Linked DNA regions of Homo sapiens: all the other regions are linked to region 4. Evidence: promoter capture Hi-C in 16 types of primary human blood cells and fetal thymus (Javierre and others, 2016). All regions are on one chromosome and are shown on one strand. Each heading gives the region's core, a stretch centred on a gene start or on the middle of the fragment in contact. The rest is flanking DNA. Distances are from core to core; before and after follow the strand shown. Region 1 has its middle 15 kb from the start of SBK1. Region 2 has its middle 25 kb from the start of XPO6. Region 3 overlaps GSG1L (GSG1 like). Region 4 holds the start of GSG1L (GSG1 like). Region 5 overlaps SBK1 (SH3 domain binding kinase 1). Region 6 overlaps GSG1L (GSG1 like). Region 7 has its middle 3.7 kb from the start of XPO6.

Region 1 (2,700 bases), core at 71-2,570, 210 kb after region 4:
GAGAGGAGGAGGTGGGAAGTCATCCCAGACCTTGCTACAGAGTGGGCTCCACGGACAGCAACGTCAGCACCCCTGGGGGCTGGCGGGATGGAATGCGGAATCTCGGGCCTCACCAAGACCCCTAGGAGACTCACAGGCGAATTACAGTTTCAGAAGCTGCTCAGAAAGGGCAGGAAAAAGCAACTGGGAGGCATAGTGAGGGCGGAGGTTGGGGGCACTCTGCTGAGTGCCTCTCCAAGACCCGCGCCCCTGAATGAGACGGGGCACTGGCAGCTGCGGGGTGACCCTCCCAGGCAGTGTTGGCTTGCTTGGTGCAGGCAGAGAGCGGATGCCTGGCTAGCGCTGTGCCAGGTTGGTCCTATAGCAGGACAGGTGGGCATGGGAGTGGGCGTGTTTTCCAGGAGGCCATCGTGGTGGTGGCAGAAGGGGGTTGCTGGGTAGTGAGAAAGTGCTGCAGGTGGTGGATTGAAGTTTTTATTTTATTTATTTATTTATGTATTTATTTATTTATTTAGGGGCGGAGTCTCACTCTGTTGCTCAGGCTGGAGTGCAGTGGTGCGATCTTGGCTCACTGCAACCTCCGCCTCCCGGGTTCAAGTGATTTTCCTGCCTCAGCCTCCCAAGTAGCTGGGACTACAGGCGCCCGCCACCACGCCCGGCTAATTTTTTGTATTTTTAGTAGAGACAAGGTTTCACCGTGTTAGCCAGGATGGTCTTGATCTCCTGACCTCATGATCTGCCTGCCTCGGCCTCCCAAAGTGCTGGGATTACAGGCGTGAGCCACAGCTCCCGGGCGGTGGATTGAAGCTGATGCCTGCAGGTACCAGGGCAAGCGATGAAGAGGATAGAAGGGCAGAGCAGAGGGGGGAGTGCCTGAAATAGAGAACTCAGAGCAGGTGAGGTGTGGGGTCGTTACGCAGGCTGGGGTGTGGGCCTGGGAGCGGTGGCCAAGGGGCTTGCAGAGGAGAGGGTCGAAGGGGACGGGAGGAGGTCAGGGAGCTGAGAGGCTGCTGGAGGCTGCTGAGAACTCCTCTGTTCTCTGAGGTTTGTACCCCACAAACTTAAAGATGGTGAGAGAGGAAACGGATTCATTTGCTCTGGGGTGTGGCTGCGTGGGGACTTTTGAAAGCTCCCCGGAGTTTGAGAACCACGGTGTAAACATAGAGACAGAGAGAGAGAGAGAGAAAAAAAAAAGACAACAGGGGAGTAACAAGAAGGCACTCTAAGGTGGGGAATGGTGGCTCACGCCTGTAATCCCAGTGCTTTGGGAGGCCCAGGCAGGAAGATCACTTGAGACCAGGAGTTTGAGACCAGCCTGAGCAATACAGTGAGACCCCCGTCTCCACAAAAAATTAAATTAGCCGAGCATGGTAGTGCTCGTCTGTAGTCCTGAGGCAAGAGGATCGCATGAGCCCAGGAGGTGGAAGCTGCAGTGAGCCATGATCACACCTCTGCACTCCAGCCTGGGCGACAGTGAGACCCTTTCTCCAAAATACAAATTTTAAAAGGTACTCTGGGGCTGGCACAGACCGGGGACCTCGAGTGGACCAGCTGGGGAGGGGATTCATGTCCTGGGTTGTGGGCGATCAGAAGATGGAAATGTCGTGGTCTTGCCCTCGAGAACCAGATAGAACAGAGACAGAGACAGAGCGCGCGCCGCGGTCCCTCAGATCGTCCTGCACTACGGCGAAACGGCCACTAGAGGGCGTGTTGTGCTCACATATGCGGACCGGCCGGCAAGCGGCGGATTCCGCGGACAAAGTCTCTTGTTTAGCCACAGAACCCTGGGCTTGGCCCCAGGCCCGCTACGTCCGGGCCGTGTGGCCTCAGCCAGGTTACACAAAAGCTCTGTGACCCTGTTTGGTCAGCCATAAAATGGGCACAGCTATAAGTCCGACCTTCTAAGGTGGTGTGAGGATGCCCGAGGCCACGCAGGCAGAGCAGCGTCCAGTGGGGAACGAATGGCCCCGCGAGAAGGGGAGGCTTCGCCATGGCCTCCGTCTCTCTCCGCTTCTCCTGCAGCTCCTCCGCCCAGCCCTCCCCAGGCCACATCCGGTCCCGGGAGAGAGACTGAGATCGACTTTGGGGCAGGGGAGAGCAGGGGGAGGTAGGCAGTGTCTAGGACAGGGAAAGAGAGGAGGCAGCCACCTCCCTCACCCCACCCCACCTCACCCACCCCGCCTTTGTTTTAGAGGCAGGATCCTGCTCTGTCACCCAGGCTGGAGTGCAGTGTCCTGATCCTGGCTCACTGCATCCTCAGCCTCCCAGGCTCAAGCGATCCTCCTGCCTCAGTCTTCTGAGTAGCTGGGACTACAGGCAGGTGTCACCACGCCTGAGAAATTTTTAATTATTATTTTATTTTATTCTATTCTATTTTATTTATTTATTTATCTTATTTTGAGACAGAGTCTTACTCCATCACCCAGGCTGAGTTCAATGGCGCGATCTCAGCCCCAGTTTGAAATTCTTAATAATTTCATCTTTGAATTTGTAAGGGGAGTCTGATGGGCCGGTGGGGCATGTGCCCAGGCCTTGGAGCCCCTGCCTCATACCAGGCATGATCACACTCCGACCACCTCCCATAGGCAGGTTCTCAGCCAACTACTCACCCCGACAACAGTCACCACTGCTGCCGTTTGTCCCCAGCCAGGGGCCTGGGTGAGGGCAGGATCGGTGTCAGGTGTACAGCGACGTGGTCCA
Region 2 (2,700 bases), core at 106-2,605, 170 kb after region 4:
ATTGCCCAAGCTGGAGTGCAATGGCATGATCTCAGCTCACTGTAACCTCCACCTCCCAGGTTCAAGCAATTCTCCTGCCTCAGCCTCCCAAGTAGCTGGGATTACAGATATGCACCACCACCTCCAGCTAATTTTTTGTATTTTTAGTAGAAACAGAGTTTCACCATGTTAGCCAGGCTGATCTCGAACTCCTGACCTCAGGTGATTCACCCACCTCGGCCTCCCAAAGTGCTGGGATTAAAGGTGTGAGCCATTGCACCCAGCCATGTTCACATTATAAGTAGGAAGCAGAGGGAAAGAAATGATGTCAGCCACACCTGGACCCTCTTTTTTCAAAGCTTTCCTGTAAACCTTGAACAGCCTTCTGTCCCTATCTTATTGACCAGGACTGGGAAATACCACCTCCCTAAGCTTCAAGAGAGGCTGAGAAAATGTAGCTTTTCTAGACTGTAAATAGTGGCAGTAGCAAGAGAGAGGGAAGTGAGGAATGCCAAAAAGTGCCAACCACAGGACACTTTATTGTAAATATGGCAGGAGAATATTTTTTGAGACACAGATTGATGTTTTATTTAATTTCTTGATTTTAAAAAACCTTTACTATTATTATTATTATTATTATCTGTAGAGACGGAGTCTTACTATGTTCCCCAGACTGGTCTCAAACTTCTGGGCTCAAGCAATCCTCCCGTCTCAGCCTCCCAAAGTGCTGAGATTACAGGTGTGAGCCACCATGTCTAGCCTGATATTTTATTTTCTTCTTTCTTCCCTAATGTTAATCCAAAACCTGTCTTTGTCTCATATTCAGTAGAGAAATGGGAGAGGGTGGAAAGCAGGTAAAATCCATGAGTTTCGGGCTTTTATATCCCAATAGCTTAAGTCCTTATTGGAGAAAGATAAAGGCCAAAAATAGGACTTGTCACTTTCAGATGCCCCTGGGGTAGGGAGAAAAGAGAAAGGCAGAGGGGAAGTAATGGAAAAAAAGAGAGAGTTTGGGAAATCTCAGAGGGAAAAGCTCTGAACTCCACTTCTTTGGGGAAAAGCGATGAGACTCCAGAGAGATGCTTGAGAAAGCCCAGAGCAGATGGGACCAGGCATGGTGGCTCACGTCAGTAATCCCAACACTTTGGGAGGCCAAGACAGGGGATCACTTGAGTGCAGGAGTTGGAGACCAGCCTGGGCAACATGGCGAAACCCCATCTCTGCAAAAAAATACAAAGGTAAGCTAGACATGGTGGTGCACACCTGTAGTCCCAGCTACTCAGGAGGCTGAGATAAGAGGATTGCTGGAGTCCAGGAGGTTGAGGCTGCAGTGAACCATGATACACCACTGCACTCCAGCTTGAGGGATAGAGCAAGATCCTGTCTCAAAAAGAAAAAAAAAGAGCAGAGGGGAGAATGCTTCACACAATGCCCTAGTTCTCAGTGGGCATGAGAGTAGTGGAACATTCTCTGAGCCTTGAGCATGGTCCTGAGAGGCAGAAGGAGCTGCACAGACAGAAACAAGCAGCCTGTGTAAGCTGAAAGCCAGGGGGTCAATGGCTGAGGGGTGATGTCTCAGGCACACCTGCATGGACAGAGGACTTCAGTACAGACACTGCCCACCATAGTTTGGCACTTCAAAAGTTACCAAGAAATATACACATTCACATAGGTGAAAATGCCATCTTAGCTTGCAATAGAAATTATGCTGAGTGGCCAAGCATGGTGGCTCATGCCTATAATCCCAGCACTTTGGGAGGCCAAGGCAGGTGCATCGCCTGAGTCAGGAGTTTGAGACCAGCCTGGCCAACATGGTGAAACCTCATCTCTACTAAAAATATAAAAATTAGCCAGGCATGGTGGTGTGCACCTGTAATCGCAGCTACTCAGGAGGCTGAGGTGGGAGAATCGCTTGAACCAGGGAGGCAGAGGCTGCAGTGAGCTGAGATTATATCACTGCACTCCAGCCTGGGCAACAGAGTGAGACTCTGTCTCAAAAAAAAAAAAAGAAAAAAAAAAGAAAAAGGAATGGAAAGGAAAGGAAGAGAAAGTATGCTGATTTATGGAAAAAGTAAGAAAGTTCTTCATGCCTTCTTCAGTATGTGGTCTGAGATCATAGTTTGTGGCAGAGACCACTGGGTACCTCTCCCAGCATCCATTCTCCCCCTTCTCCTTAGGAATAAACTTTTACTTCTAGCTGGGTACATTTCCCAGCCTCCCTTGCAGCTAGGTGTCATCATGTGACTAAGCGGTGGCCAATAAGATGTAAGCAAAATGGCTCTATGGGACTTGTAGGAAGTTGCCTTAAAAGGAAGGAACACAAGCTTTCTCCCCACTTCCTTGTTGCTTGGAGTAAGGCAGTTCCAGCAGCCATGTTGGCCCAAGAAGTGACCTTGCAAATAGAAGGTGGATGAGAAAGTGGAGCGTGAGACTCTGTGTTGTGGCCATAGCATCTTGGACCACTTGCCTTCAGATGTATTTGACATGAATGGGAAATGCACTGCATTAGTATGTGAGGGCTGCCATGGCAAAAAACAGCCAGCTCTCCACATCCTCAGGTTCTGCAACCACAGATTCAACCAACCACAGGTCAAAAATATCTGGAAAAAAAAAAAACTGTAATAGGCTGGGTGCAGTGGCTCATGCCTGTAATCCCAGCACTTTGGGAGGCCGAGGCTGGAGATGGCCTGAGGTCAGGAGTTTGAAGCCAGCCTGGCCAAT
Region 3 (2,791 bases), core at 240-2,739, 220 kb before region 4:
GGTTGTAATGGATCACTAAGGAAGGCTGCCTTGGCTGCCTGCAGACCAGAGGGGTACAGATTCACCATGTGGGGCACGGCTGGGCACAGATGCATAATCCAGGCCACCCTCAGGGCCCAAGAGCTGATGGGACTAGGAGCTGGATAGTGGCAGGCTCTGAGGGCCCAGCTGGTCCCTCCATGGCCCACAGGGCACCCTTGGGCAGCCACATCCCTTTCCCCAACCCTGGTCTTAGAATAAAGGAGGCCGCAGCCACCTGCCTCAGGCTGATGAGTAAGGGCAGACTTCCTGCTGATCACACAGCCTCTCAGCAGAGACATCAGCACACACACCCTCTCCAGTTGTCTTTGGGGCCCAGGCTCTGGTAGGGTCACAGCAGCAGACTCAACCCCTTAAGGGATTGGCCTGCTGGAATACCAGCTAACCCCTCCAGAGAGCAAAGGGGCCGCCTGGGGTCCCCAGAGAGGAAAGAGGCTGGTCTGCTGTTTCCACATAGTCATGGAGACTAGAAAGGGAGGGACAGCAGTGAGGCCTATATTCCACAGGGACAGGGCCCCAGAAACAGAAAGGGGCCACTAGGACAGGAGTGAGAACCTTCCCTAGATCTGGCCCAACTTGCTACTCTCTTGCTGTGTGACATGGGCCAAACTGCATAACTTCTCTGGGCCCTCCAGCTCTTATAAGCTTCCACACCACGATGTCCCACTACCCTCAGTCTGCAGAGTGAATGCTTGAGATAAGATTTCACTGTGTGTGCAGGAGTAAGAGGAGAACTTTTTCCATTTCTCTCCAGACTGATAAAAGGCAAAACAGAAGCAGAAAGCGCAAGGCTAGCTTTCCACACTCCTGCTGTCACCAGGAAAGCTGACATTCCAAGCAGGGGCCACAGACTCAAATTCCTGCAAGGTCAGGCAGATGATGACTAAGTGTGGAAGCGTGGGTAAATGTAAGGCAATAGGGTGTGGTGGGGACTGGGGTGAGCTGGAGACCAGATGCCTATCTAAAGTTTCAGTCATTCTCAGCCTTATCTCCAGGCTGCCTGGTGGCAATGCTGGTTGTGCAGGAACAGATCTTCCAATGATCATGAATCAGAAACCTGGACTTTTATGTAGAAGTTTTACCATTTTAGATGTTAGAAATAAATCCAAACTTTTATAAGACACAATGGCAGGCCTAAGAAATCATCCGCAGGCTGGGTTCAGCCCCGGCTGCATGCAGTTCACAGTATCCAAGGCTAATTGTGTGGCTTTCAACCTGTTTCCTGGTCCCTGAAGGGGGATGGCAGCCCCTCTCCTGGGGATCAGTGACAGGACCAGGCAACTCGGGGCTTGTAAAGTGCCTCCCACTGTGCACAGCACAAAGTAGGTGTAGTAACCTTAATCTTTTTTTTTTTTTTTTTTTTTGAGACAGAACCTCCAGCCCAGACTGGAGTGCAGTGGCACGAACACAGTTCACTGCAGCCTCAACCTCCTGGGCTTGAGTGTCCCTCTCACTTTACCCTCCTGAGTGGCTGGGACTACAGGTGTGCACCACCACAGCCAGCTAATTATTTTTATTTTTTATTGTTTTAGAGATTGGGTCTGGCTATGTTGCCCAGGCTGGTCTTGAATTCCTGGCCTCTGGCGATTCTCCCACCTTGGCCTCCCAAGGTGCTGGGATTACAGGTGAGTCACTTTGCCCAGCCCCTCTCCCATCTTGGCCTCTCAAGGTGCTGGGATTACAGGTGAGCCACTTTGCTCGGCCCCAACCTTAATCTGATTCACTTGGTCCCTGCCACGTTAAGCCAAGCAGCTGCTTGGGCGCCCATCAGGGTCCTGACCTGACGTTGTCACAGGTAGGGAGAGCTGAGACATGGCGCCAAAAGGAGGAGTGGGCAGGAGGGCTCGCACTCACCGAGCAAACTCTGTGCTGAGTGCTCCACATGCATTGATTCACTAGCTCCTCGTGTTGGTTACTGTCTCCAAAGCTGGCCTCCAGGGAGCCACACCTCCCGCGGTTCATGCCTCCCCTTGAAGCTGGCCCTGTCACTTGCTCTTAACCAATAGAATGCAGCAGGAGTGACACTGTGTGATTTCTGAGGTTGGCTCATGCAGATACTGTGGTTTCCACCTGGGTCTCCTGGAACACTCACTCTTGAGATAGTCTCCCCAAGGACCCAGCCTCCAGGCTGTGTGAAGCCCCTCCGGCCGCCAGCCACCGCCAGCCGGCACCAGCTGCCAGTGTCATGAGGTGCCACCTTGGAGGTCCACCCCAGCCACGCCCCAGATGACCTCAGCTTCAGGTGACATCCAACTGAAGCTTCGAGGAAGAACCCAGCAAGCACCACCCAGATGAGCCCGGTCCACCACCAAACGTAAGAACAAATAACAACACATTTTTACTAGTTACTATTATTACTACATAATAACATATTTTTTACTAGATTTGGGGGTGATGTGTACACCTCAACAGAGAAATGGAATACAATTCAAGAGACCCCCATGAGGCGGAAATTCGGGCTGTCCCATTTTCCAGCTGAGGACACAGAGGTGCAGAGGAGGTAAGTGACTTGGCCAAGGTCCCCGGCTGGTGAGGGGCAGGGGCAGGATCTGAACCTGAACTGTCTGACTCCAGGAGCCACACCCTTGACCGCCCCTCCACGCTGCCACAGTGGCCCAGCAGTGTATGTCGGGGTGAGATTTGAACCCCAGGCTGTCAGACTCTTAACCATGGAGACCTTCTACTTCTTGCAAAGGTGTCCCTCTAAGAAACCGGCACTCAACCGGCTTTGAGCGCCTCAAAACCCCTCCAG
Region 4 (2,764 bases), core at 112-2,611:
AGGAGCCTTGTGCTAAGCTAAGCCCTCCTGGACTCCTCGACCCGGAGTTTGCCCAGCTGTCCCCAGTTCCCTAGCCTGCCTCTCCCAGGAGGGGGCCAGGATACAGAGGGCTCCCTGGCGTCTGGCAATAGGGGTGCCTCTGGGCGGGTGCGGCTTTCCGGGAGCCCGCGGGACTCCCCCACTCCCCACTCCCGTCTGGGAGGTTCGGCGTGGGTTGGCGATGGGGGTGGAAGGCTCCCGGGTCTGTGGATCTGCGGCAGGAGGGGCGGCTGGTAGCAGGAGTCCCTGCATCACCCCCACCCCCAGGGGCGTTCCGGGGTGGGTGGGGGCATCTAGTGCCCCGCGAAAGGAAGAGGAGGAGGGGGCGAGCGTGGAGATGAGTTCAGGAGCGGAAAGCAGCGCGCGCCCCTCCGACCGGCAGCGGGGGTGGGCGCCTTCCCGGGGCGCGGGAGCGTCCCCAAAGCCGCGGGGCGTCCGCAGCGGGTAGGAGCTCTGCCTTGCACCTCTCCACGGCGGGGCGTCCCGCACGTCCCCCCATGCTGGTCCCCGGCCCCGGAACGGCGCGCGCCCCCTGCCCCGGAACGTCGCCCCTAGCCAGGCGGAGCGCTGGGAGCTGGGCCCAGGCGGCGGGAGGAGGGCGAACGGGTCCGGGGCTCGGGCCTCGATGGCCGCGCCGCCCCGGGGGAGCCGGAGCCGAGCTGGCCGCCGCCCGCGCGCACTCACCAAGCCCGCTGAGCTCCTCCTCGCACGAGTACCAGATGCCGGTGTGGAAATTCCTGAAGAGGAAGCGGTCGTCGCCGGTCTCCCAGCTGTAGAGCGCGCCGCCAGGGGGGCCGTTCCCCGAGGCGGTGGCGGCGGCGGCGGCGGCGGCGGGGGCGGCGGTGCCGTTGGCCGTGGCGTTGGCGCCCGAGTTGGGGCAGTTGGCGCGCCCGCCCTGGCCGCAGCCCGGCTTGGGGACCCGCTGCGTGCCCTGGCACCAGTGCGTGGTGAGGAAAGCGGTGGTGGCGAACAGCAGCGCCAGCAGGTTCAGGGCCACGGCCAGGAGCGCTCGGCCGCGGCGGCTAGTCTTCATGCCGCCCGCGCCGCCGGGACGGGACTGCACCGCCGGGGAGCTCCGCGCGCGAAGTTGGCAGCTGGCGCCCCGCGTCAGCGGCCGCTGCCCGCCGCGCCCCGGGGCTCGGGTGCCTGAGATCGGCGGCGGCGGACGCGGCGCGGGCCCATGCCCCCCCCAACCCCGGGGTGGGGGCGCGGCGCGGGGGGCGTGCGGGGCGGGCTGGCGGGGCGGGCGGCGGTGGAGGAGCGGCTACGGCGCGCCCGGAGCCCGGAGCGCGAGTGCACCTCGGCTAGGAGCCGCTGGCGCCTGGCAGCGGCCACGGCGCAGGGACGCGCGCCCCTCCGTGGGGAGACACCTGCAGGCGGCCGGCGACACTGTTCCGGAGCCCGCCCGCACGGGGAGAGGGGGCCGCCACGCCGGGCGCGGGCGGGGGCCTGGGAGTGGAGGGACGCCCCCGAAAGAAATCCGAGCCAGGGTGAGGGTCTGAGACGCAAGGAGAATCCCAGGCAAGGCGCTCCTGAGAAAAGATCCCCACGGCGGACGTGGGGCAACAAAACCCGCCGGGAGCGGGCATCTCATGAGACCCAGAGAGGCCCTGCCCCAGGAGACAAGGGCAGAGCCTGCTGGGGCTCCCCAAGAGGGACACGGACCAGCAGGACCCTGTCCCAGAAGGGGATCCCCAAAAGGACCCCCGCACCAGACCCTGAGAAAGGAGTTTTTCCAAAGGTTCTAAACAGCAGAGCCTGCAGGGCTTCCCACAGCCAGGGAGCTGCAAGACCCCCTGGATAAGACAACCCATGCTGGACTTGGAGTGGCAGAATCTGTCAGGAGGCGCCCCTCCTGGAGTATTGGGTTATAGGGTTTGAAACGTTTTTCTGTCTCCTGGGTGTCACCTCCAGCATCTGGGAAGAGCTCCCCTCCAAGGATGAAACTGTCATCTGGGCTCCCAACCATGGCATGCAACTGCAGGAAGAGTGGCAACAGGGTACCCCAGACAGCCCACTGCACCCACCTGAGATCCCAAACAGCAGAACCCTAGGAGGGCCCATGCCGGCCACAAAGTTATTGCAGCTACCAGGCAGTGGTGCCCTACAGGGGCTGCCAACCCTGCTCACATGCACACCATGTGAATGTGGGTAGAATCTTCAAGATTCGGGTGGGGGCAGGGTGGCCAAACATACTGACTTTGGGATCAAGCATATCTAGGGCTTGACCAGCTGTGTGGCTTTGAACAGGTCACTTACCCTCTCTGAGCCTCAATTTCCATAACTATAAAAAAGGGAGGACCCCCCCCCCTTCAAGGTATATCACAGTGGGCTGCTGTAATGAGATCATGGCTGCAAAAAGCATTTGGCACACAGTAGACTCAATTAATAATTCACTGTTACTGACATCTGAACCAAGATCAGTTGACCAAACTCAGACAAACCTCTTCAGGCTCTCCTGTGCAACGTGGAAACTGTGTGCAACCCCGTCCCCACCTCTGCTCTAAGATGACCACGCTCCCTGAACTCCCTTCGCGCTGCACAGCACTTACTGCCCAGATGCTCAGGGCGTGCAACAATTAATTGCATGTTGATTATAAGAGCTCATTTGAATTCTGCCCAAGCTGAGAACTGCTCCGACAACCCCCGGCTTGCCGAGTGGCAGGCCTTGCAGAATTCAAGGTTAACCGATTATGAATTGCCTTACTCCTGTGGGTGAGCCGGC
Region 5 (2,700 bases), core at 160-2,659, 240 kb after region 4:
GAGACAATAATAGCTGCCACTTCCTAAAGTTGTTGTGAGGATTAAGTGGATCTGTTGCAGATGAAGCGCTTGAGCAGGGCCTGCTGCTTAAGTGTTTGCTCTGGCCTTCCCTGCCGGGGTATGCAAATGAGCTGATCCAGGCCCAGGGAACTGCTGTGATCTCCCACTGCACTAGCACTCCTTCCTCATGGCTTTAGGCAACCACCAGAGGGGCAGAGGATGTTCCAACTGCCTCTGGGCTTTGGGATGGCCCCAAGGGGCTGGGAGACAGGGCACGGGTGGGGCTGGAGGGGACCATCCTCCTCCTTCTGATCTGGGCCCAGAGAGGCTGTATAGCGCTGGGCCCCCACTGCCTCCAGGGCAGCTTTTCTGGGTTTGTTAGGGTCCCCCACCATAGCCAGAAGGGGTTTACCTATCCATGAGCATAATTTGTGACTTTCTGAGCCAGGGCTCAAGGCCTTGCAGAGAGGAGACTTTTCCACCTTGGGAGCTCAGGTGCCTGCCAGCCCTGACCCTAGGTGTCTCCAGGAGGCACAATGGGGCCCACAGATAACACAGCTTAGTGGTAAAAAACGCAATCCCTAGATTCAGCTGGGTGACCTTGGACAAGGTGCTTAATCTCTCTGTGCCTCAGGTCCCTCATCTGTAAACAAGGGGGATGATATTAGTACTTGCCTCTTAGGGTCACTGTGAGGAGTAAGAGAATGAATGTAAAGTGCCATGAATGGCACCCAGTACCCATTAAGGGTTTGTTGTTCATATAAGTCCTCAAAGCCCTGAGCAGAAAGGGAAAGTTAGCCCCATCTTTACAGATGGAAAAACTGGAGGTGTATGGGTGAAGCTGTTTCCTCAAGATTCCGTAGCTGGGATTTAGGGAAGAGTCTGCCTCCCTTGATACCATTCACACATGGTCCACAAGCCAAGGCCAGTCAAATGGACCTGATGGGACCTCGCCTGAGCTCCAGGGCTAGATTTCCTGCCCCACGCTTCCACTTACACGGGGCCATGGCAGTGAGAACTGTGTCAGGGAGGAATCTGCAGCACTTGCCCCAGGCCTCCCCGAGAAACCTCTAAGCTTCCCCCACCCCCTCCTCAGCCCCACTCCAAGAACAGTGTGCGATGCTGCCACAGCTGGCCTCGGAGTTTCTGAGTCTGATCGGGTCAGGTTGACACTGTCACTTTTCACTTCTCCAGGCCAGGTTGGCTTCAGGAAGGGTTTGTTCAGGTTTGGGGTTTGGAGTGCATCCCACTTGGAGTGGAAGCCAGGTCCCCGCCATGGCCTCGGAGGCCCTGAATGACAACAGCCATCCCTTCTCACCTCTGCTCTCATCTCCTGCCCTTCACTCCCTTATCCCTGTGCACACAGCAGGTCCCACCTCTAGGCCTCCACACAGTGCCCTCTGCCAGGAGAGCCCGCCCACCACAATGCCTATGTGCATGCAGCCTTCTCCATGGGCTGGCCTCCCACCCACAATTCCCTTGCCTCTTTCCCGCTCTGCTGTTCCTTGAGGACTTCTCACTGCCTGACACACATCTCCTGCTCATCTTTGTCACTGTGTGCCTCCAAACTAGAATATGAGCTCTTTGAGGGCAGGACAGTTTGTTTGGTTCACGAATGTATTCCAGACCCAAAAATAGTACCAAGTACATAGTAGGTGCTCAACAAATACTTATTGAATATTTTGGAGCCAGATAGATGATCTCTACGTGACTTCTTAGCTGTGTGACACAGGACACATCACTTAAGCTTCCTATCTCTCTTTTTTGTTTGTTTGTTTGTTTGTTTGTTTGAGATGGGATCTCACTCTGTTGCCTAGGCTGGAGTGCAGTGGCGTCATCACAGCTCATGGCACTTTTGGCCTTCCAGGCTCAAGTGATCCTCCCGCTTCAGCCTCCCGACTAGCTAGGACCACAGGCGCATGCCACCATGCCTGGCTCATTTTTTTTTTAATGTTTTATAGAAATGGGGTCTTGCTATGTTGCCCAGGCTCATCTTGAATTCCTAGGCTCAAGCCATCTGCCTGTGTTAGCCTCCCAAAGTGCTTGGATTGCAGGCTTGAGCCGCTGTGCCTGGCCAAGCTTCCTATCTCAGAGTCTCAGTTTCCTGAACTGTAAAGGATGTAAGGGGATTAATAATAGCTTCTCCTGAGATTGTCATGAAGTTGAAATGAGTCAATATATATACAGTGCTTATACTTTCAGTGGCTCATAAATGTTGGCTATTACTAATAGTACCCTAAACTGCACTGTTATTTTATTATTTCACTTTACTGAGGATGGGGAAATGGGGAGACGGTAAGTGGCAGATCCAAAGCTTCCAGGCTAGAAATGGCGGTGAAAGCCTGAACCTGGACCGCAGGCTCCTAGGCTGGGCTGTCTTCAGTCCATCCCGGTGTAGGAGCTCAGGGAGGCAAAGGAGGTGAAGGATGCAGCTGGAGAAGGGCCCATCTCTTCTGGGGCCTCTGTTCACCCAGCCATCTCACCAGAGACCACCACTTGTCCACTGGTAGACATTCAGCCCAGTCCCCTTGCCTGTCAGCCAGTGGTGGGCACCTACTGTGCCCAGCATCCTGCACTCCTGTTGATACCCCTGAGTGCTGGGCCACCTGCCTCACCCAGGCAGCCAGGCTGGGAAGACCTCCCCAGCTTATCCCACACCCCTGGGGGCTGCCCCGGGCCCTGCACCCTCCAGTAGCCAGG
Region 6 (2,785 bases), core at 7-2,506, 170 kb before region 4:
CCCTGATATCTACAGATAGGGGTGAAATATCCTGCAAACCTTTCCCCATGGTCCAGGGTTCTAACAAACACCACACAATCCCATAACTCAATTTTCAGAGTTAGAGGAAAAGGAAAGACATTCAGCTCAGACGCCTGAATTGACTTTCTAAGCCAAGGGCATGGATCTGACAGCTGTTCCCGAAAGTTCTCTTGTCCAGCCAGCCCCAAATCCTTTCCAAAAAGTCCCAGAGAGGGCGAGTGAGTTGCCCAAGGTCACGACGCTCACTCGGAATCTTCCTTTAATAAGTCCGGAAAGCTTTTATGCTTTGACTCCAGGTCATAGTAGAGACCCTCAGTGGATACTTTAGTGGGATGGGCAAAAAGGTAGGGCAACAGAGCACGTGGGGATGTGATTCCATTCCGATGCCAATCGGCATGCTACCGTGGAAACACAGGCCTGGAGATGACTGTTTTCTGCATAACCATCTTGTCTAGAGTCTCAATCCTCAAAGGGAGGTCTACAAACCAGCAGCGTCAGCATTCCCTGGGACCCTGGAGAAAATATAGAATCTCTGGCCCCTCCCAGACCTACTGACTGAAGACCTGCATTGTCATCAGGTCCCTAGCTGACTCCAAAGCACATAGGAGTGTAAGGAGCACTGGCCTAGGGGGTCACTCCAATGGGTGGGGCATGCTGGAGGCGTGCGGGAAATGAGATGTTCAGCCTGCAGCTGTACTTCCTTCTGGTGGGTGCTCAGGGTGGAGATGGGCAGGACTGCTTGGGAACCATGTGTCAAGGGCATTGAATGCTGCACTAAGACATTTGAATGTGACTAAGCCCCTGGGGCTGGCTGAATAAGGGCTCTCAAAGGTGTCCCCTTCCTAATCCCTGGAAGCTGTTCACTTCCAGGATACGTTACCTTGCATGGCACAAGGGACTTTGCAGACATGATTAAGATCTTGAGATGGAAGGATAAATAGCTAATGCACATGGGCCTTAATACCTAGGTGATGGGTTGATGGGTGCAGCAAACCACCATGGCACACGTTTACCTATGTAACAAACCTGCACATCCTGCACATGGATATTGGAACTTAAAATTAAATTAAATTTTTTAAAAAGTCAAAGGTCGAAGGCATAGAAAAAAAAGATTTTGAGATGGGGAGATTATCCTGATATCTGGGTTGGCCCAGTGTAATCACAAGGGTCATTATGACAGGGAGACAGGAGGGTCAGAGACAGAGAAGGAGATGCAATGGGAAAAGCAGAGGTTGCAGTGATGCGGGGCCATGAGCCAAGGAATGCAGGCGGCCTCTAGAAGACAGAAAGGGCAAGGAGACAAGTTCTCCCCTTGAACCTCCAGAAAGGAACACAGTCCGGCTGACACTTTGGTATTTTGTTGTTGCTTTGTTTTGTTTGAGACAGATTCTCGCTCTGCTGCCCAGGCTGGAGTGCAGTGGCACGATCTCAGCTCACTACAACCTCCGCCACCTAGGCTGAAGCGATTCTCCTGCCTTAGCCTCCCGAGTAGCTGGGATTACAGGCGTACACCATCATGCCTGGCTAATTTTTGTATTTTTAGCAGAGACAGTGTTTCACCATTTTGGCCAGGTTGGTCTCAAACTCCTAACCTCAGGTGATCCCCCCACCTCGGCCTCCCAAAGTGCTGGGATAACAGGCATGGGCCACCACGCCCAGCCAACACTGATTTTTAAGTCTCATCTTGGAATTCTGACCTCAAGAACTGTGAGATAAATCCATATTGTTTCAAGGCACTAAATTCTAAATTTGTGGAAATTTGTTACATCAGCAAGAGGAAACTAATACACCTCCTTTTTTTCTTCTTCCTTTTTGAGACAGGGTCTCGTGCTATCACCCAGGCTGGAGTGCAGTGGTGGAATCACAGCTCACTGCAACCTCCAACTCCTGGGCTCAAGTGATCTTCCCACCTCAGCCTCCCAAGTCTCCAGGACCACAGGCACGTTCTATTGTGTCTGGGTAATTTTTTAAATTTTTTGTAGAGATGAGGTCTCACCCTATTGCCCAGGGTGGTCTCAAATTCCTGGCCTCAAGTAATCCTCCTCTGTTGACCTCCCAAAGTTTTGGGATTACAGGCATGAGTTACCATGCCCAGCCAACTTCCTTTCTTTGTTCAAAATCACTTCCTCCCCGAACCACCCTAGCCCGCACTGTGGCCCCCACCATGGCCCCTAGATCGACCTTAGCAAAGAAGGAAGCTTCTCTACCACCTCCACAGAGATACCTCGCTGTGGTGGGGTGAGCCTGGACTTGAGGTCAAACAGACATGGATTTGACCTTGGCCTTTTCCTAACCTCTCTGAGCCTCAGTTTCTTTGGCTATAAAACAGAGTCCACACTACCAATCTCACAGGATTTTCTGGGCAACTTTAATGAGGGAATGGCTGCAAAGCCCCCATCTAGTTCTTGGAGCATTCTAGGTCCTCTGTAAACGGCAGCCTATGAAGCTGATGGGCTGGGCCCAGAAAAACAAGTCCTTTCTCCTCCACACTCAACAACTGAACAAACTAGTTTATCATTGGAAAGGATTTTGACAATGCCTCTGGCCCCTAGAGTTCCACAAGCCTCCAGGCCTTGTCAGTTCAGAGACGTCTCTGGCAGACGTGCCCTTTAGAAATGGCTCTTTTGGAATCTGGGGACAGTTGCTGAGCCTGTGAGATATGTCACGGTGACCTTGGCCTTCAGAATCAGATGACAATTATTTTTCTTCCCCTTCAGAATTCAGCACCTGACTTTGAAAATAAGCACTGGCCCACACAGGCTGG
Region 7 (2,700 bases), core at 170-2,669, 150 kb after region 4:
AGTTTCGCTCTTGTTGCCCAGGCTGGAGTACAATGGTGCAATCTCGGCTCACTGCAACCTCTGCCTCCCAGGTTCAAGCAATTCTCCTGCCTCAGCCTCCCAAGTAGCTGGGATTACAGGCACCTGCCACCACACCCAGCTAAATTTATTTTTGTATTTTTAGTAGAGACGGGGTTTCGCCATGTTGGCCAGGATGGTCTCACCTCCTGACCTCAAGTGATGCGCCCACCTCGACCTCCCAAAGTTCTGGGATTACAGGCATGAGCCACCATGCCCAGCCTCAAGCACATTTATTTTATCAAATCTTTATTGTTGTCCACTAAGTGACAGTCACTATTTCAAGGATTCAATGCTGAGCAAAACAAATATATGTGTGCCCTTATGGAATTTAAAGACAAATTATTTGTAAAATATTGTACAATAATGGATCAGTTATTGTGATAAGAGCAATGAAGGAAAAATTGAAACTAACATGATATAACTTTAATATAGTTTACACGCTAATAAGGCCAAGGGATCTAAAATAATCTGGCAGATTAGGATGGGGAGGAAGTCAGGAAGTGACATTTCTTTAAGCTTTGGCCTTAAAGAAGCAGGAGTTTGCTAGGCAAAGAGAGGGGGCATAGAACATTCCAGGCAGTAGAAACAGCATGTACAAGAGAAGCCATCTCAGTAGGTAAGCTGATGAATCGGAATGGAGGCCAAGTCACTTACTTGGCTTAGTTTAGTAGGATGAGTGAAAGCTTTGGGTTGAGACTCATTTGGAGTGGAATCCAGCTCTTAACTTCACTAGCTAAGGTATCTTGAGTTATTGACTCTCGAAGTCTTGGTTTCCTTACTGTAAAATTGAATGAGATAACAGAAATGCAACTGACTCACTTAAGGGTATGCCTTTGGGTTACATAACTGGACTTCCAGAGATTCATTAGCTTTTGGCTGGGTGTGATGGGAGGCCTAGATCCATTCCTCTAGGATTTTCTTTTTTTTCTGTGTGTGGTTTTGTGTGTGTTTGTTTGTTTGTTTGTTTGTTTTGTTTTGTTTTATTTTTTTGAGACAGGGTCTCAGTCTGTTCTCCATGCTAGAGTGCAGTGGCGCAATCACAGCTCACTGCAGTCTCGACCTCCCAAGCTCAAGCAAGCCTCTCACCTTAAACTCCCAGTTAGCTGGGACTACAGGTGTGCGCCACTATGCCCAGCTGATTTTTTTTTTTTCAGCAAAGACAATGTCTCACTGTGTTGCCCAGGCTAGTCTCCAACTTCTGAGCTCAAGTGATCTGCCCACCCCGGCCTCCCAAAGTGCTGGGATTACAGGCATGAGCCACCACGCCCGGCCATTCCTCTAGGACTTCCTTGCTCTGCTCTTCTCCATTATCAGACTTGTTGTCAAGGTGGTTGCCAGGAACAGCCAGGGCCACAAAATTCCCTGTTCAAATCCAGCAAAAGAGAGCACCTTTTGGCCGGGCACAGTGGCTCACACCTGTAATCCCCAACACTTTGGGAGGCCAAGGTGGATGGATCGCTTGAGGTCAGCAGTTTGAGACCAGCCTGGCCAACTGGTGAAACCCCATCTCTACTTAAAAATACAAAAATGAGGCTGGGCATGGTGGCTCATGCCTGTAATCCCAGCACTTTGGGAGGCCGAGGTGGGTGGATCACCTAAGGTCGAGAGTTTGAGACCAGCCTAGCCAATATGGAGAAACCCCGTCTCTACTAAAAATACAAAAAATTAGCCAGGTGTGGTGGCGCATACCTGTAATCCTAGCTACTTGGGAAGCTGAGGCAGGAGAATCGCTTGAACCCGGGAGGCGGATGTTGTGGTGAGCCGAGATTGCACCATTGCACTCCAGCCTGGGCAACCAGAGCAAAACTCCATCTCAAAAAAAAAAAAAAAAAAAATTAGCTGGGCATGGTGGCAGGCGCCTGTAGTCCCAGCTACTCAGGAGGCTGAGGCAGGAGAATTGCTTGAACCCAGGAGGCAGAGGTTGCAGTGAGCCGAGATTGCACCACTGCACTCCAGCCTGGGTGACAGAGTGAGACTCCATCTCAAAATAAAGAAAAAAGAGAGAGCACCTTTCTCACATCCTTTCTCAAGCCAAGAAGCTTTCCCTACTGATCCTAATTGGCCTAGGCCTAGTCCCCCGGATCTAGCCGTAGTGAAGGAGGGTGGAACTGCTATGAGTGGCTTATAGAATCCCCTGGAGTTGCTTTCAATTCCTCAGAATAAACTGGATGTGTGGAGTCACCACATCATAGCTCCATTGCCAGGCTGGGGTGAAGATTTAATTTAATGTACATAAAACACCTGGCACATGAGGCATGAGATAAGTCACAGCTATTATAAATTTGACTCCAGGGATTTTGTTCAAGTAAACTAAATAACATTTTGTTATTAATATTAATCTGAAGCCTGTCTTATTCCAAAAAAAGATTTAAGGCTGCTATTACTTTTAGTTGGCACTGCAGGGATGGCCCCCAGCCATCTCTGCCTGCCTATTTCTATTGCTACTGCCTTGATCGCCTGCATTTAGTTATTCATTCAACAAACTTTCAGTGAGTTAGTATTAGCTTTGTGCCAGGCCTTTTGCTAAAAATGAAGTATTTAAAGTGAATAAGAATCAGGCAAATTGTCCACTGTCTGGGTCAGCAACAGCCACCCAAATAATTACAGCACATTGTGAGGTGTGTATGAACTTCCTAAGCG

What was found. The method cuts DNA at HindIII sites, captures the fragments that hold promoters and counts their contacts. A CHiCAGO score of 5 or more calls a contact.
Region 1: a contact is called between a fragment that was not itself captured here and the fragment with the promoter of GSG1L in region 4, in 1 of 17 cell types (neutrophils). The highest score is 10.1, in neutrophils.
Region 2: a contact is called between a fragment that was not itself captured here and the fragment with the promoter of GSG1L in region 4, in 4 of 17 cell types (neutrophils, monocytes, M2 macrophages and 1 more). The highest score is 17.4, in neutrophils.
Region 3: a fragment that was not itself captured here is called in contact with the fragment with the promoter of GSG1L in region 4 in 1 of 17 cell types (M1 macrophages); the score reaches 5.4 in M1 macrophages.
Region 5: a fragment that was not itself captured here is called in contact with the fragment with the promoter of GSG1L in region 4 in 1 of 17 cell types (neutrophils); the score reaches 5.7 in neutrophils.
Region 6: a contact is called between a fragment that was not itself captured here and the fragment with the promoter of GSG1L in region 4, in 3 of 17 cell types (M1 macrophages, M2 macrophages and M0 macrophages). The highest score is 6.1, in M1 macrophages.
Region 7: a fragment that was not itself captured here is called in contact with the fragment with the promoter of GSG1L in region 4 in 1 of 17 cell types (neutrophils); the score reaches 6.0 in neutrophils.

Annotation. Positions count from the first base shown.
Region 1 is chr16:28,276,169-28,278,868 of GRCh38, forward strand. It overlaps a transcript of SBK1 not described here. Among named protein-coding and RNA genes, the nearest start is that of SBK1, 15 kb to the right of the region's middle. RefSeq lists a silencer at 1,520-1,814. The HindIII fragment of the contact is 3,981 bases long and covers 1-2,700 here.
Region 2 is chr16:28,235,892-28,238,591 of GRCh38, forward strand. No RefSeq gene overlaps it. Among named protein-coding and RNA genes, the nearest start is that of XPO6, 25 kb to the left of the region's middle. The HindIII fragment of the contact is 1,892 bases long and covers 410-2,301 here.
Region 3 is chr16:27,838,651-27,841,441 of GRCh38, forward strand. All of the region lies in intron 4 of GSG1L (GSG1 like), which reads right to left. Among named protein-coding and RNA genes, the nearest start is that of GSG1L, 220 kb to the right of the region's middle. The HindIII fragment of the contact is 1,614 bases long and covers 683-2,296 here.
Region 4 is chr16:28,062,353-28,065,116 of GRCh38, forward strand. GSG1L (GSG1 like) reads right to left here and starts at 1,362. Exons shown (of 7, transcript NM_001109763.2): 1 at 724-1,362. The coding sequence starts at 1,072. The HindIII fragment of the contact is 8,058 bases long and covers 1-2,764 here.
Region 5 is chr16:28,298,548-28,301,247 of GRCh38, forward strand. All of the region lies in intron 1 of SBK1 (SH3 domain binding kinase 1), which reads left to right. Among named protein-coding and RNA genes, the nearest start is that of SBK1, 7.4 kb to the left of the region's middle. The HindIII fragment of the contact is 672 bases long and covers 1,074-1,745 here.
Region 6 is chr16:27,895,482-27,898,266 of GRCh38, forward strand. The region is part of intron 2 of GSG1L (GSG1 like); the gene reads right to left. Among named protein-coding and RNA genes, the nearest start is that of GSG1L, 170 kb to the right of the region's middle. The HindIII fragment of the contact is 1,922 bases long and covers 296-2,217 here.
Region 7 is chr16:28,214,317-28,217,016 of GRCh38, forward strand. No RefSeq gene overlaps it. Among named protein-coding and RNA genes, the nearest start is that of XPO6, 3.7 kb to the left of the region's middle. The HindIII fragment of the contact is 1,356 bases long and covers 742-2,097 here.